2 separate regions of the Homo sapiens genome follow, and region 2 is linked to region 1. Evidence: promoter capture Hi-C in human tissues and cell types (Jung and others, 2019). All regions are on one chromosome and are shown on one strand. The core of a region is centred on a gene start or on the middle of the fragment in contact, and the rest is flanking DNA. Distances in the headings are between cores, read along the strand shown. Region 1 holds the start of INSM1 (INSM transcriptional repressor 1). Region 2 overlaps CFAP61 (cilia and flagella associated protein 61).

Region 1 (6,278 bases), core at 2,046-4,545:
CGGGCCCGCCCGGCTCCTCCCGTGAGGCCAGGGCCTCCTGTTCTCCTAGACACCCCAAGGAGCCAACTCCTCCGCAGAAGTTCCCCGCTTCTGCTCTTATTTCCAAGCTTCGCGCTTTCTACAAACTCCCTGTTGCCTTGACTTTGATTTCCAGCCGTGGTGAGGGTCAGAGTGAACCCCGGCGCGCTCCCCGACGGCATCCCCGCACACCAGGATAGGAGAAATTGGAGGGCCTGGGGCCTCGGGCTCCGCAGTCGTCGGAGGAAGAACCCACCGCGGGGTCCGCAAGGGAAAGTGAAGAGGCCCGGGATTTTTCCAAAGCGCTGGCCAGGACCCCGAAGGAAGGGGAGGAGTCACCTGAAGCCGGGGAAGGCCCCTTGGGTGCTCTGCCTTGGATCCTTATGTTCACTGACTTTCGCGAAGCCCCCCTGGAGGGGGGCAAATCCGCGCTGTTTCCCCCAACTTAACTTCACGCGGCCCATTCTCCGAATCGCGTGCGCCAAGGCCGGCGTCGGGGGCGCACTGTGATGGCGCTTTGCTCTTCCCAGGCGAAGACAAATATCTCGACCCGATGTCCCCATGCATGCGGGTGCACAGGTTCTGAGAAAATCACGCAGAAGGCGGCTGCGATCCACGGCCCGGGCTGGGCTACACCTGCTTGGAGGTCGCTGGTGTGTGCGTGCGCGCGTGCGCAGCCTAACTCCTTCCAGCCCCGGGTGGTGAAATTAGTTTCCAATACTAGTACCTTTCAAGTTTCCATTTATTTTGACTGTACCCGTCTGAAAGCAGATTTCATTTACGCTAGCAAGACTGGAAGCCACAAATAAAGAAAAAGAAACGGATTCATTGAATCTCAGTATCTCAGTAGCGTTTAATAGATTCCCTTGGCTAAATTCAGAGCCCTGTTTGAATTCACTCACGCAGGAGTTGTTTTGTTTTTTTTGTTGGTAGAGGTGCCGGTTTCCCATCCCCACGGCTTATTTACAATTATGGGTGTTGTTATTTTTAAAGGATTCACAAGGTGACTAACTCTCTGTTATCTGTTGAATGGAAGGAGTGTTACATATGCAAGACCGAATGGGGCAGGCCGAGCCCCCGCCCTATGCTATTCTACAATCCAGATGGGATTCGTGATTAGAAAATAAAATTGGCCAAAGCTGTCTCGGAATCCTTTTCCCACTTCTAATTTCATCAGCACTATTAATCAGAGCTCAAAAGAGCAAGGAAATAACATCAGTTACTTTTAGATAGAAATATGTTTATAAATTTTAGATAAACTCATTTTAAGATTTCTAACTTTTGGGGAGACTAGCACTCACCACAGCATTTTTAAAACTAGGGTGAGACTTTTCAAAATATATTTCACTATATGCATTCTTCCCTTTTCAGTGTGTGAGTTAAAATATTACAAACATAAAATTATCAAATATCTTTCCCTTGATTAACCAACCTGATTAACCCCTTAATTAATTAAGCCTAACAACTGTCCCCATCACAACTTATGACTCATGTGGACTCTATTTTTACATGTTTAATTTCTACGCCAGGGTATTTTCAGAGGGAAAATCCAAAACAATTAAATACCTTCAGTGGAATTAAGCGTAAGTAAAACTCAGCAAAATCTGTCTGGTATACAAAGCTTTGCAGAAAAATGTTTCCTTCTCTTTCAATAAAGTGACATTTTCCTCACAGCATATGACATTTTATGTGGCTTGGCTATTTGTTCCCCAGTGTTGGACGATCAGGGCCACTACGCACTCGTGGGGTTCTCTGCCCTGTCCCCCGAAGATTCTGCCTTTTGTGTTTCCTCGGGGCTGGGCTGGACAGAGGATGGAGGCAGGCGGCCCAGTCTGGGTCCAAACGGAACGGCAGCGGAGGTGGGGGTGGGGGTGGGGGCGGGGGGAATCTTCGCTGTTGTCTCTTCCTGGTGGCACAGGGGAGGCGGCTTGTCCTCTCGGAGGCCTCAGCCTGCCTCAGAGTACAGATTGCCCCCCCTCCCCCCGTCCAGCACGCGTCTCTTTTGCGTCCAGATTGGCCGCGACCGGAGCTCAATAGCAGGAGGTTAATTTCCTTCACAAAGGTGAAGGGGGCACGGCTCCGTGGGGGCTGCGCCCAGACAGGCAGCCCCTTTATTTCGCAGCGCCTTGATTGGAGCCCTTGATTTAGCATCTGATGTCAACCGGCAAACAAAATGCCCGCTCGGAATGAAAATGCATGAGGCCGCGCGGGGAGGAGAAAGCCAACTTCACTGGGGCGCACGAGGCCGACCGCGCGTTTCGGGCTTCGGCCAACTCGACCCGGATTAACCGAGCCTTGGACCACGCGGAAGCTCCGGGCGGCCTGGGTCGGGCCCCGCCAAAGATGCCATTCCCAAGCCTCCAAGAACCCAAAAGTTCAGAAATTCACGTTCCTCTGGGAACCCAGCCCAGCCCGCCCGCGCTCCAATCCCGCGCTTTCGGGAGACTGAGAAGGCCGTGCCAATTCCTTCTCAAACTCGAAAGAAACCTTCTCTAGCCCCGTGGGCGCGCGGAGGCTGCGAGCACAAACATCGCCCTCGGCCACTGCCAGAAGGCCGGGCCCCCTGTCCACACTTGGAACCCCGGGGAACCCTTTTGCTTGGCCTCTTGGGTCCAGCGGCCCATCCGTCCAAGGTCCGGGCGGAGGCCGTCCGGACCCTGCTGCTCTCTCGGATTCTTGTTTATTTCCCAAACACCACGCGGAGCCACTGCGCCTCCGCAACGATCTCCCCCGCACCGCCCCGGCGCGCCCCCGCCCCCACCCAATCAGCGCGCACAACTTCCCCCTCGGCTCCGGCTCGCGGATTGAACCCTCCTGACATATTTGGGGCCATTCTTCTCCTTTGTTGCTATTTTGCTAGCGACCCGCGGGTAATCCCCGCGCGGGAGGGGGGCGTGCATTGTCGCGCTGATGGACGGGCCCATTTGGCGGCTCCGCGCCCCCCGGAGGAGAGACACAAAGCCCAGGCACGTGCGCCTCCCCATAGAGAAGCAGCAGACCGTGAAGGGAGGCGGGGCCGGGCGTGTGCCTGGACCGGGCGGGGCGGCGGCGCCGGGCGGGGCGACCAGGGGCGCGCGCGGGGGCCCCGCGCCCTCAGGTACATCTGCCGCACCTACCGGGCGACCCCCGAGTCCCGGCCCCCTTTTGGCCGCCCCATCGCCCTCCCACCCTGCCAGGCTGAGGAGCTGCGGACGCGCTGATTGGCTCCAGGGGAAGCGGGAGGCGAGAACAATGGCCCCCTCCCCCCGTTAAAAGGGAGCGGCTGCCGGGCCCGGGGACAGGGACGCGCGTGCAGGGCGCAGAGCTGGGCCGAGCCGTCGCCGGCGCCACGCGAGTCCCGCAGCCGCCGCGCCCGGGCAATGGGCCGGGGGCACTGAGGGCCGCCGGGGCCGAGCGCGGAGGGGGGACCGAGCCAGTGCCGTGCCCTCGGGCCGCGCCAACATGCCCCGCGGCTTCCTGGTGAAGCGCAGCAAGAAGTCCACGCCCGTTTCCTACCGGGTCCGCGGCGGCGAGGACGGCGACCGCGCACTGCTGCTCTCGCCCAGCTGCGGGGGCGCCCGCGCCGAGCCCCCGGCGCCGAGCCCGGTCCCCGGGCCGCTGCCGCCGCCGCCGCCCGCGGAGCGCGCCCATGCAGCGCTCGCCGCCGCGCTTGCCTGCGCGCCTGGGCCGCAGCCACCCCCGCAGGGCCCGCGGGCCGCGCACTTCGGCAACCCCGAGGCTGCGCACCCCGCGCCGCTCTACAGTCCCACGCGGCCCGTGAGCCGCGAGCACGAGAAGCACAAGTACTTCGAACGCAGCTTCAACCTGGGCTCGCCGGTCTCGGCCGAGTCCTTCCCCACGCCCGCCGCGCTGCTCGGAGGGGGCGGCGGCGGCGGCGCGAGCGGAGCTGGCGGAGGCGGCACCTGCGGCGGCGACCCGCTGCTCTTCGCGCCCGCCGAGCTCAAGATGGGCACGGCGTTCTCGGCTGGCGCCGAGGCGGCCCGCGGCCCGGGCCCCGGCCCCCCACTGCCCCCTGCCGCCGCCCTGCGGCCCCCGGGAAAGCGGCCCCCGCCCCCTACCGCCGCGGAGCCGCCCGCCAAGGCAGTCAAGGCCCCGGGCGCCAAGAAGCCCAAGGCCATCCGCAAGCTGCACTTCGAGGACGAGGTGACCACGTCGCCCGTGCTGGGGCTCAAGATCAAGGAGGGCCCGGTGGAGGCGCCGCGGGGCCGCGCGGGGGGCGCGGCGCGGCCGCTGGGCGAGTTCATCTGCCAGCTGTGCAAGGAGGAGTACGCCGACCCGTTCGCGCTGGCGCAGCACAAATGCTCGCGCATCGTGCGTGTGGAGTACCGCTGTCCCGAGTGCGCCAAGGTCTTCAGCTGCCCGGCCAACCTGGCCTCGCACCGCCGCTGGCACAAACCGCGGCCCGCGCCCGCCGCCGCCCGCGCGCCGGAGCCAGAAGCAGCAGCCAGGGCTGAGGCGCGGGAGGCACCCGGCGGCGGCAGCGACCGGGACACGCCGAGCCCCGGCGGCGTGTCCGAGTCGGGCTCCGAGGACGGGCTCTACGAGTGCCATCACTGCGCCAAGAAGTTCCGCCGCCAGGCCTACCTACGCAAGCACCTGCTGGCGCACCACCAGGCGCTGCAGGCCAAGGGCGCGCCGCTAGCGCCCCCGGCCGAGGACCTACTGGCCTTGTACCCCGGGCCCGACGAGAAGGCGCCCCAGGAGGCGGCCGGCGACGGCGAGGGGGCCGGCGTGCTGGGCCTGAGTGCGTCCGCCGAGTGCCACCTGTGCCCAGTGTGCGGAGAGTCGTTCGCCAGCAAGGGCGCTCAGGAGCGCCACCTGCGCCTGCTGCACGCCGCCCAGGTGTTCCCCTGCAAGTACTGCCCGGCCACCTTCTACAGCTCGCCCGGCCTTACGCGGCACATCAACAAGTGCCACCCATCCGAAAACAGACAGGTGATCCTCCTGCAGGTGCCCGTGCGCCCGGCCTGCTAGAGCGCGCCCTCCACCCCGGCCCCCGAACTGTGCCTTCGCTTGGAGACCCACAAAGAGAGTGCGCCCTGCACTCCCCGAACCCGAGTCCGCGCTGGGGGAGCCTCGCCCCCGCCCCCACCGGGTGAAAGTGTCGTCTCCGCTTCTCTCGGTGTGGCGTGACGGTAACCCCATACTCTCCTTTTGACTCCTTTTGGAACCCCCACTTTTACGTTGTGTCCCTCCGCCTCCCCCATGGCGCAACAGGAGTCAGTCTCTTTCTGTACAAGGGAGAAAAGCTGTACGCGTTTGTCTCGTGGTTGGAAGCCTCCCCTTGGCGGGGAGAAGCTTTTTTTCTTGCTAGTATTCGCTGTGTTCATGGTCTAGAAATGCGGTCTGGTCTCGCCTCGCCTACCAATCTCTGCTCTCTATGTATGTAGCGTACGGGTTGTTTTGGGTGAATCTTGAGGAATAAATGCCTTTATATTTCACAGGCTGTAAATTGAACTTCCCACACGATTAGCTTTATTATGGCTTGTGAACTGCTGGAGTCTGGCTTTACCTTTTTGTATGTGAACAAATCAAATTGCTTAAAAAAGAGTTTTCTTTAGTATAGCCACAAATGCCTTGAACTGTTGTCTGGGATTGTTTTGTGGGGGGAGGGAAGGGAGTGTTCCGAAGATGCTGTAGTAACTGCCTCAGTGTTTCACGTAAGACTTTTTGGTTTGATCATCTTTGTTGAGGTAGGACTATCAGTTCCCTCTAAATGTATATGTTGATTTATGAGTAATTGTTATTTATTCTTTATTTATTTATATTAATTATGAAGATTATGATATTATTTGATTGCAGATTTTTTTGGCGCGCTGCCCCCTCCCCACCCTGCCACTCTTGACATTCCACTGTGCGTTTTAGAAGAGAGCCTTTTTCTAAAGGGATCTGCTTAAAGTTTTAACTTTTATACCTATCTGAGTGAATTACAGACAACCTATCATTTATTCTGCTTCGAGGGTCCCCAGGGCCCTTGTACAACCGACAGCTCTTACTTTTAAATGCAATCTCTTTTCTACATACATTATTTTCTTAATTGTTAGCTATTTATAGAAAGCTTCAATAGAACTGTTTCAACTGTATAACTATTTACTATTCAAATAAAATATTTTCAAAGTCAAAGTGTGGTGGCCTGATTTCTGCATCACATGCTTTCAGGACGAATTTAAAATAGAGCTTCTGATGGTTTCTTAAAATGTAACTTTATTTTTTATTAGGAAAAAGGGAACCACCAGGATGGTGGGTTTTCAGAGCTGAAC
Region 2 (6,278 bases), core at 1,746-4,245, 78 kb before region 1:
AGCCACCTATAGCTAACTGAGCACTTAAAATGGGCTATTGCAACTGAGGAACCGAATTTTTCATTGTATTTAATTTAAATTAATTTAGATGTAAATATTTATAGCCTTGTATGACTAGTGGCTACCACAGAATCAGAAAGCTCCCTGAACCATTCATGGGTGTGGGGCAGGAATACTGAAGGGGCTGGCTACCTCTTGCCCAAGGACAGCTGATGTCTATACAGAATGAAACAGTTGAGGGGGGTAAAGCAGGAATGTGATGGAAGTGGGGAGATGACCATCAGTATGGTTGGGACCCATGTCTTATGTTCATTTTTTAGCATGCTTTTAATAAAGTGGCAGACTATTTTAGGGAAAGATAAAATCAATTGAGCGTGTTTCAATTGGTCCAACAACTAAAGACAAAAACAACTAACTTGCACTGCTTCAGTGACTTTCAACATCAGTGTGGAAGACGATGTCCAGATGAGCATGAGAAAGCATTGAAATTTGAGCACAGAATGGAGAGGGCATACAAATAATTTCTAAGGAGCATGCAAAGGGGTTGGTGGCCCCTCTGCTTATGGCACCCTCACACAGTGCCTGGCATATGGTAGGTATGCCATCAGTATTTCTTGAATGACTCTGTGTCGTATGAGAGCAGGAAGCAACAAGGCAGGAACCCAGACCTAGTAGATACAGAGACTGATGAAGCATCCATCTTCTCTGGAGCATCATATAGGGACAAGCTTACTGAGTTTTAAAAGCTAGCAATGGGCAGTCTGAAAACTGAAGACTGGATGAGATCAACCCAAGAAGGAACCTGCAGAGACCCGAGTGTCAGACACAGGAAGGGGAAGAGGATGGAGGCTGCGCTAGAGCTGTTCAAAATGTAGGAGCATGAGGGGAAGGCAGGGTCTGTACAAATGTAAACCCTCTTCCGCCGAAAACCACTCACACTTTTGTGGGAGATATTTCATCACCTGGCATCCTTCTCTCCACTGGATGAGTGAATTGAGTGAATAAGAGTGACATTTGGGGATCTTAATGGGTTCTTCATGCCCAAGGCAATCTATCTCTCATACGCACACAAACAACATGATAGCAAACTTTTAGTATGTGTATTTTTGTGCCCCGAATAATAAAATGCCCTGGAGACTAGTCACACTTTTGGGAAGGTAAAATGAAGAGTGATAACTGAATATTGCTGTAATTGTTCACTTCGTAGATGTTCTTCAGCTTCTGTGAGAAGAATGTGGATTATGAAACGTTTAAAGCCCTCAATGATGCATGTCTTGTGTATGACAGTCGACTTGTGATTGATACCAACTTCCACACCAACGACATAGCCATCAGAGCTGCTGGCTCCCTCACCAAATTCTCCAATAGATACTACTCAAATGAGTGGACTCACAGCAACTTCAGTTCCAAAGAAATTGGCTTTCAGCTGGCAGCAGCTATGCTACATCTCTTTGATCCAACCCTTGAGCCTGTGACCGAGCCACCAGCTAATCTTGACCGGCTCATCCCCATGTACAAGGGAGCCAAGATTCAAGGTATACGAGTAGGCTTCCTTCTCCTTGATGAAGCCACAGATTAGGTATGGCTCAGCAGTCAGGCCAGTCCTCCAGGTTTCTCTTAGGCTTGGGGAAAAGGCTCCTCCGTACCTCAATGGGTTGCCACAGAGACAGAGAAAGGGTCTATAATTTCTGAAGCATTTATTACAAACCTGGAATTATTGTTATTACGGTTCTTTGCATTTGAGCATTTACTATGGACCACATCCTAAATGGGGTTCCCACTTTACAGATAAGAAAACAGACAAGGGAATGATTATTAACTTGTCTGGATGTCTCACAGCTGGAAAATGATGGTTTGCCCTGACATCTTACCCAAAACTTCCATTCTCTCTGTAAGTTCAGAGATAAGGAGACCCTTCCAGGCAGCCAGGCCTCAGCCTGCTCTGGGGATGGATAAGCTTAACCATTTGCAGCTGTAAAGCAGTGCACTTTTATCCCATAAACCCTTCTGACCCCTAAGGAGGAGATGATTTCATGAGTAATGCAGGGTTCCTTCACGTTTAGGGTATGAGAAATACCTTTGAAAATGGTGTTTCTGAATGTTGTGGACCTTTTACCAGAAAAATGCACATATTTACAAAATTACGTGTTCCCTTCCTGGAGGTTTATAGATGAACCCACAAAGCTGTACATAGACCCCCAGGGTGTCCATGAAGCCCAGTCCAGTCAATGGAATGTCAGATTACAGAGACGAAAGCCCCACATTCCATCCTTGTCTTCCTCTTCCTAACTAGGCAGCCCCACAAGGTCTTGCTCTGCTTCTCACTCTGGGTGAGACCTGAGGAAAGGTGGTGGCCGTAGGCAGGCAAGAGAAGGGAGGGCTGTCAGAAGCCAGAGCTGGCACAGGCCCAGACCTCAGGAACAAACCAAAATATTAAGAATTCGATAATGACAGTTTCTAAAACATTGAACAAAGAACTTTGTTGATAGTCCTAATTAAATTCAATTTTTTAATATTTTGGCTACATTTTGGAGAAGTGATGAGGAATAGGAATGCTGTTTGCAACATTTAAGGCTTCTAAAGGTCTTGATCTGGTTTTGGCAGATACAGGTTAAAGGGCGGGGAGCTCCGGATAATCACAGGATACACAAGATCGGCTTGGCACATCCTGGAGCAATGGCGGCTACATTATGGGATATCATATCACATTCACATCAATTTGGTTAAATAAACGTCAACCACCCCAGGGAGTTCCTTGTTGTTAGTGGTACTTTAGTGTGAAAGTTTGAGGAGCATACGCCACTGCAGGCATCTGTTTGTCCTGTGATGAAAATATGAGCTCTGTTACTCACCTCATTAACAATTAATTTTAAATGGAAAACTTGCCATCTCTTCTAGGGGGCATTCTTCCTGGGTCTTACCATTATCTGCATATTGCCAAGCCTGCCATTCCAACTCCCTTGGAGGTACAAATGGCACAGCCTAATTATGTAAGTATTATTTCTGAATTTCATTTTACTTTCAAATACAAAACTTTGTTTATAAGAGGATGAAATTCTTTACTTGGAGTCTTTACTGTAATGTGTTGGTTCACACATCAGAAGCCCACTGGAGTAATCGTCCCCCAAGATGGCCCTTAGTGACTCTCGCACCTTGGTCTTCATGCCCTTGTGTGGCTCCTCCCACACTGAGTAGGGCTGACCTGTGTAGCCAACAGGATATTGGGGAAATGACTGTGTGACTTCCAAGGTCAGGTCAGGTCAAGAAAGATACGACAGCTTCCAGCTTGCACACTTCTAGATGACTTGCTGCCATGCTGTAGGGACGCCTTTAGAGAGGTCCATGTGGCAAGGAATTGAGGACTCCTGCACCAGTCATGATCAGTTTGCCAGGCAGACGAGTGTGCCACCTTGAAGTGGATCCTGCAGCCTCCTTCATGCCTTCAGGTGACTGCAGCCCCAGCCAACATCTTGACTGAAAACTTATGAAAGGCCTTGAGCCAGAACTCCCTAGCTAAGCCATTTTCAGCTTCTGACTCCCAGAGACCGTGAGATAATAAAAATTTATTATTGTTTTATGCCATTACTTTTTTCAATAGACTTTATTTTTTAGAGCTGTTTTGGTTTCATAACAAAATTGAGCAGAGGTACAAAGATTTCCCATGTAACCCCAACCCTTCAAAAGACATATAGCCTCCCCCACTATCAACATCCCCCACCAGTGATATATTTCTTACAATTAATAAACCTACACTGACACATTATTATCAACTAAAGCCCATAGTTGACATTAGCGTTCATTCTTGGTTGTGTACATTCTGTGGGTTTGGACAAATGTATAATGACACATATCCACCATTACAGGATTATACAGAGCAGCTTCACTGCCCTAAGAACCCTCTGTGCACTGCCTGTTTGTCCCTCCCTCTGTCCTAAGGCCTAGCAACTACTGATCTTCATACTGTCTCAGTCACTTTGCCTTTTCCAGAATGTGATATAGTTGCAGTCATACAGCCTATCGTCTTTTCAGGTTGGCTTCTTTCACTTAGTAATATCCATTTAAGCTTCCTCTATATCTCTTCATGGCTTGATAGCTCATTTCTTTTTGGCACTGAATGATCCTCTATTGTCTGGTTGTATCGGTTTATTTATCCATTCACCTACTGAAGGACATTAAGCCTCTACATTTTGAGGCAACCTGTGATGCATCGATAGATAACTGAAATATCCACTTTCATGTCAATGGAGCAAGTAGATTGCTTAGCATCTGGAATGGCCATGGAGACCCCACTGTTTTCCTCCCCTCCAGGAAAAGCAGAAGCTGTGCAGTTGGGAATTCTGCTGTTTAAAGGACACAGGTGGTTGGTCAGTTGAAGAGCTCCTCTAATAAGATTCTCTGACCCATAGTCCCAGCCCGGTGTGTGTTGTCATCTGGGGGCTTCCTTTTGGATATGTCACGTTTGATTTTTAATCAATGAGGCAGATTGGAAGCTGTCTACTTAACTTCCATTCCCATTTTCTTCTCTTGAATATTTTTGAGGGTAAACAATATGACCAACCTAAAATAAACACATTTCCCAGATTTCCTCAAGGACAGGGTCAGCCATGTGGCAGGTTCTGGCCAATGAGATGTAAGCAGAAGCTCTTGGAAAAATCCTTAAATGGGGGCCTACTCAAATGGCACAGGCTATGGGTTCTTCACCCTTCAGGAAATCTCAATCCTATTCCATTTCCTTCCCATGGACCTTGAACAAGTTCTTCAGCATCTGCATTTCTGGGATTGCTGGGGAGCATACATAAAGTAACATTGTCAGGAACAAAACAGGTAGCCAGTAAGTGGTGAAGATGGCTGTTTTAATCATTATTCCAGATAAATAATGAAACCCAGTTCTTCCAGGAAAAGGGTAGATGCTGTATGTTTAAAACTTATTTCCCTTAGCCCTTTCCCAGATTCTTTTAGTTGCCCTGTACACATGATCTGATGCAACATTTTCTTATAATAAAGGAAACCATAAGATCATCATAGTGTTCCAGTTTCTATTGCTGTATAAAAAACACCTAGTGGCATAAAACAGCCATTTGATCCTGCTTACAGATCCTGTGAGTCAGGAATTTGGACAGGGCACAGTGGGCACAGATTGTCTCTGCTCCACACTATTCACAGCCTTAGATGGGAAGACTAGAGGGTTAGATCAATGGTCCAGATCATCTGAAGGCTTGTTTACTAAATCCGAAAGCTTGTTACTCAGCTGGGCTGGGATGACTCAAGGACCGGAAGTGTTCACCACAGCCTCCCCACCTGGGCTGTCCTCAAGTGCCTGGGCTTCCTCACAGTATGGTGGCCTCAGAGTAGCCAGACTGCTCACGCAGTGGCTCTGGGCTCCAAGTGCAAGTGTTGTTACTAGCAAGCTGGAAGCTGCGTTGCCTTTTATGACCCACCCTCAAAAGTCCCACAGCATCACTTCTCCCACTCTCTCTGTTGGAGCAGTCACAGCAACCACCGAGATTCAAGGGGTGGGGAATAGAGAATCCATCTCTCAAGGCAGAGAGTGTCAGGGTCATATTGCGGGACGGTGTGTGGGATAGGGACACTGTCGTGGCCATCTTTAGAAAGTAAATCTGCCACCAGTGAGGTGGGGCATGAGGTAAATAGGATAAAGCCCAGAGTATTCACAGGCTAAGCACTTTGATCATCACAGATAAATAACTCGAGTCTAATATGCACAAGAGCTAGAACATATTGGACTTGGTTTCAGCCAGAACCAGATTCTTCAAGGACAGTGCATGATTTCCTACATGCGGCATCGTTTATTTATGAGCCACCGACTCTCTCTAAATAAAGTCAGAGGAGGAGCCAAAAGGGGTTTTTAGATAATGAGAGTTTTAATAAGAGTGCAACTTAAATAGATTCTTTGGCTGGTGCTATGACAGTATGTGAACAGGACCCCTGACTTTAATTAACCATTTTGCCAGGTGGGCCTCCTTTTTAATTAGTACAGAAGATCTAAACAGATTTTTTTTCCATTTTATTATCCAAGAAAGAAAAATGTAGGATGGCTCCATGGCAATCTTTTGGGGTTGGAATTAATTTGATTAAGTGAAATCGTTGCCAAAATGGTCAGGCAGTCACCTAAATATAGCCAATTGATCAAGAATGGAGCCCATTGAACAATATTTCGCCAGAGAAATTGAATTACTATTCATACACTAGATATAGCACAGACAAATCTTATCAGACTTTTATAGTGCTCACTAATTGGAATATTTAAGTCGGAAGAT

Evidence for each region. The method cuts DNA at HindIII sites, captures the fragments that hold promoters and counts their contacts. A contact is called where the count stands out against the background at its distance.
Region 2: a fragment that was not itself captured here is called in contact with the fragment with the promoter of INSM1 in region 1 in 4 of the 25 tissues and cell types used here (H1 embryonic stem cells, heart right ventricle, spleen and 1 more).

The regions. Positions count from the first base shown.
Region 1 is chr20:20,364,809-20,371,086 of GRCh38, forward strand. It overlaps INSM1 (INSM transcriptional repressor 1), which reads left to right and starts at 3,296. Exons shown (of 1, transcript NM_002196.3): 1 at 3,296-6,141. The coding sequence starts at 3,460. The coding sequence ends at 4,992. RefSeq lists an enhancer at 2,389-3,159. The HindIII fragment of the contact is 4,823 bases long and covers 874-5,696 here.
Region 2 is chr20:20,287,402-20,293,679 of GRCh38, forward strand. CFAP61 (cilia and flagella associated protein 61) reads left to right here. Exons shown (of 27, transcript NM_015585.4): 23 at 1,208-1,535; 24 at 2,899-2,990. Among named protein-coding and RNA genes, the nearest start is that of CFAP61-AS1, 23 kb to the left of the region's middle. The HindIII fragment of the contact is 3,307 bases long and covers 1,343-4,649 here.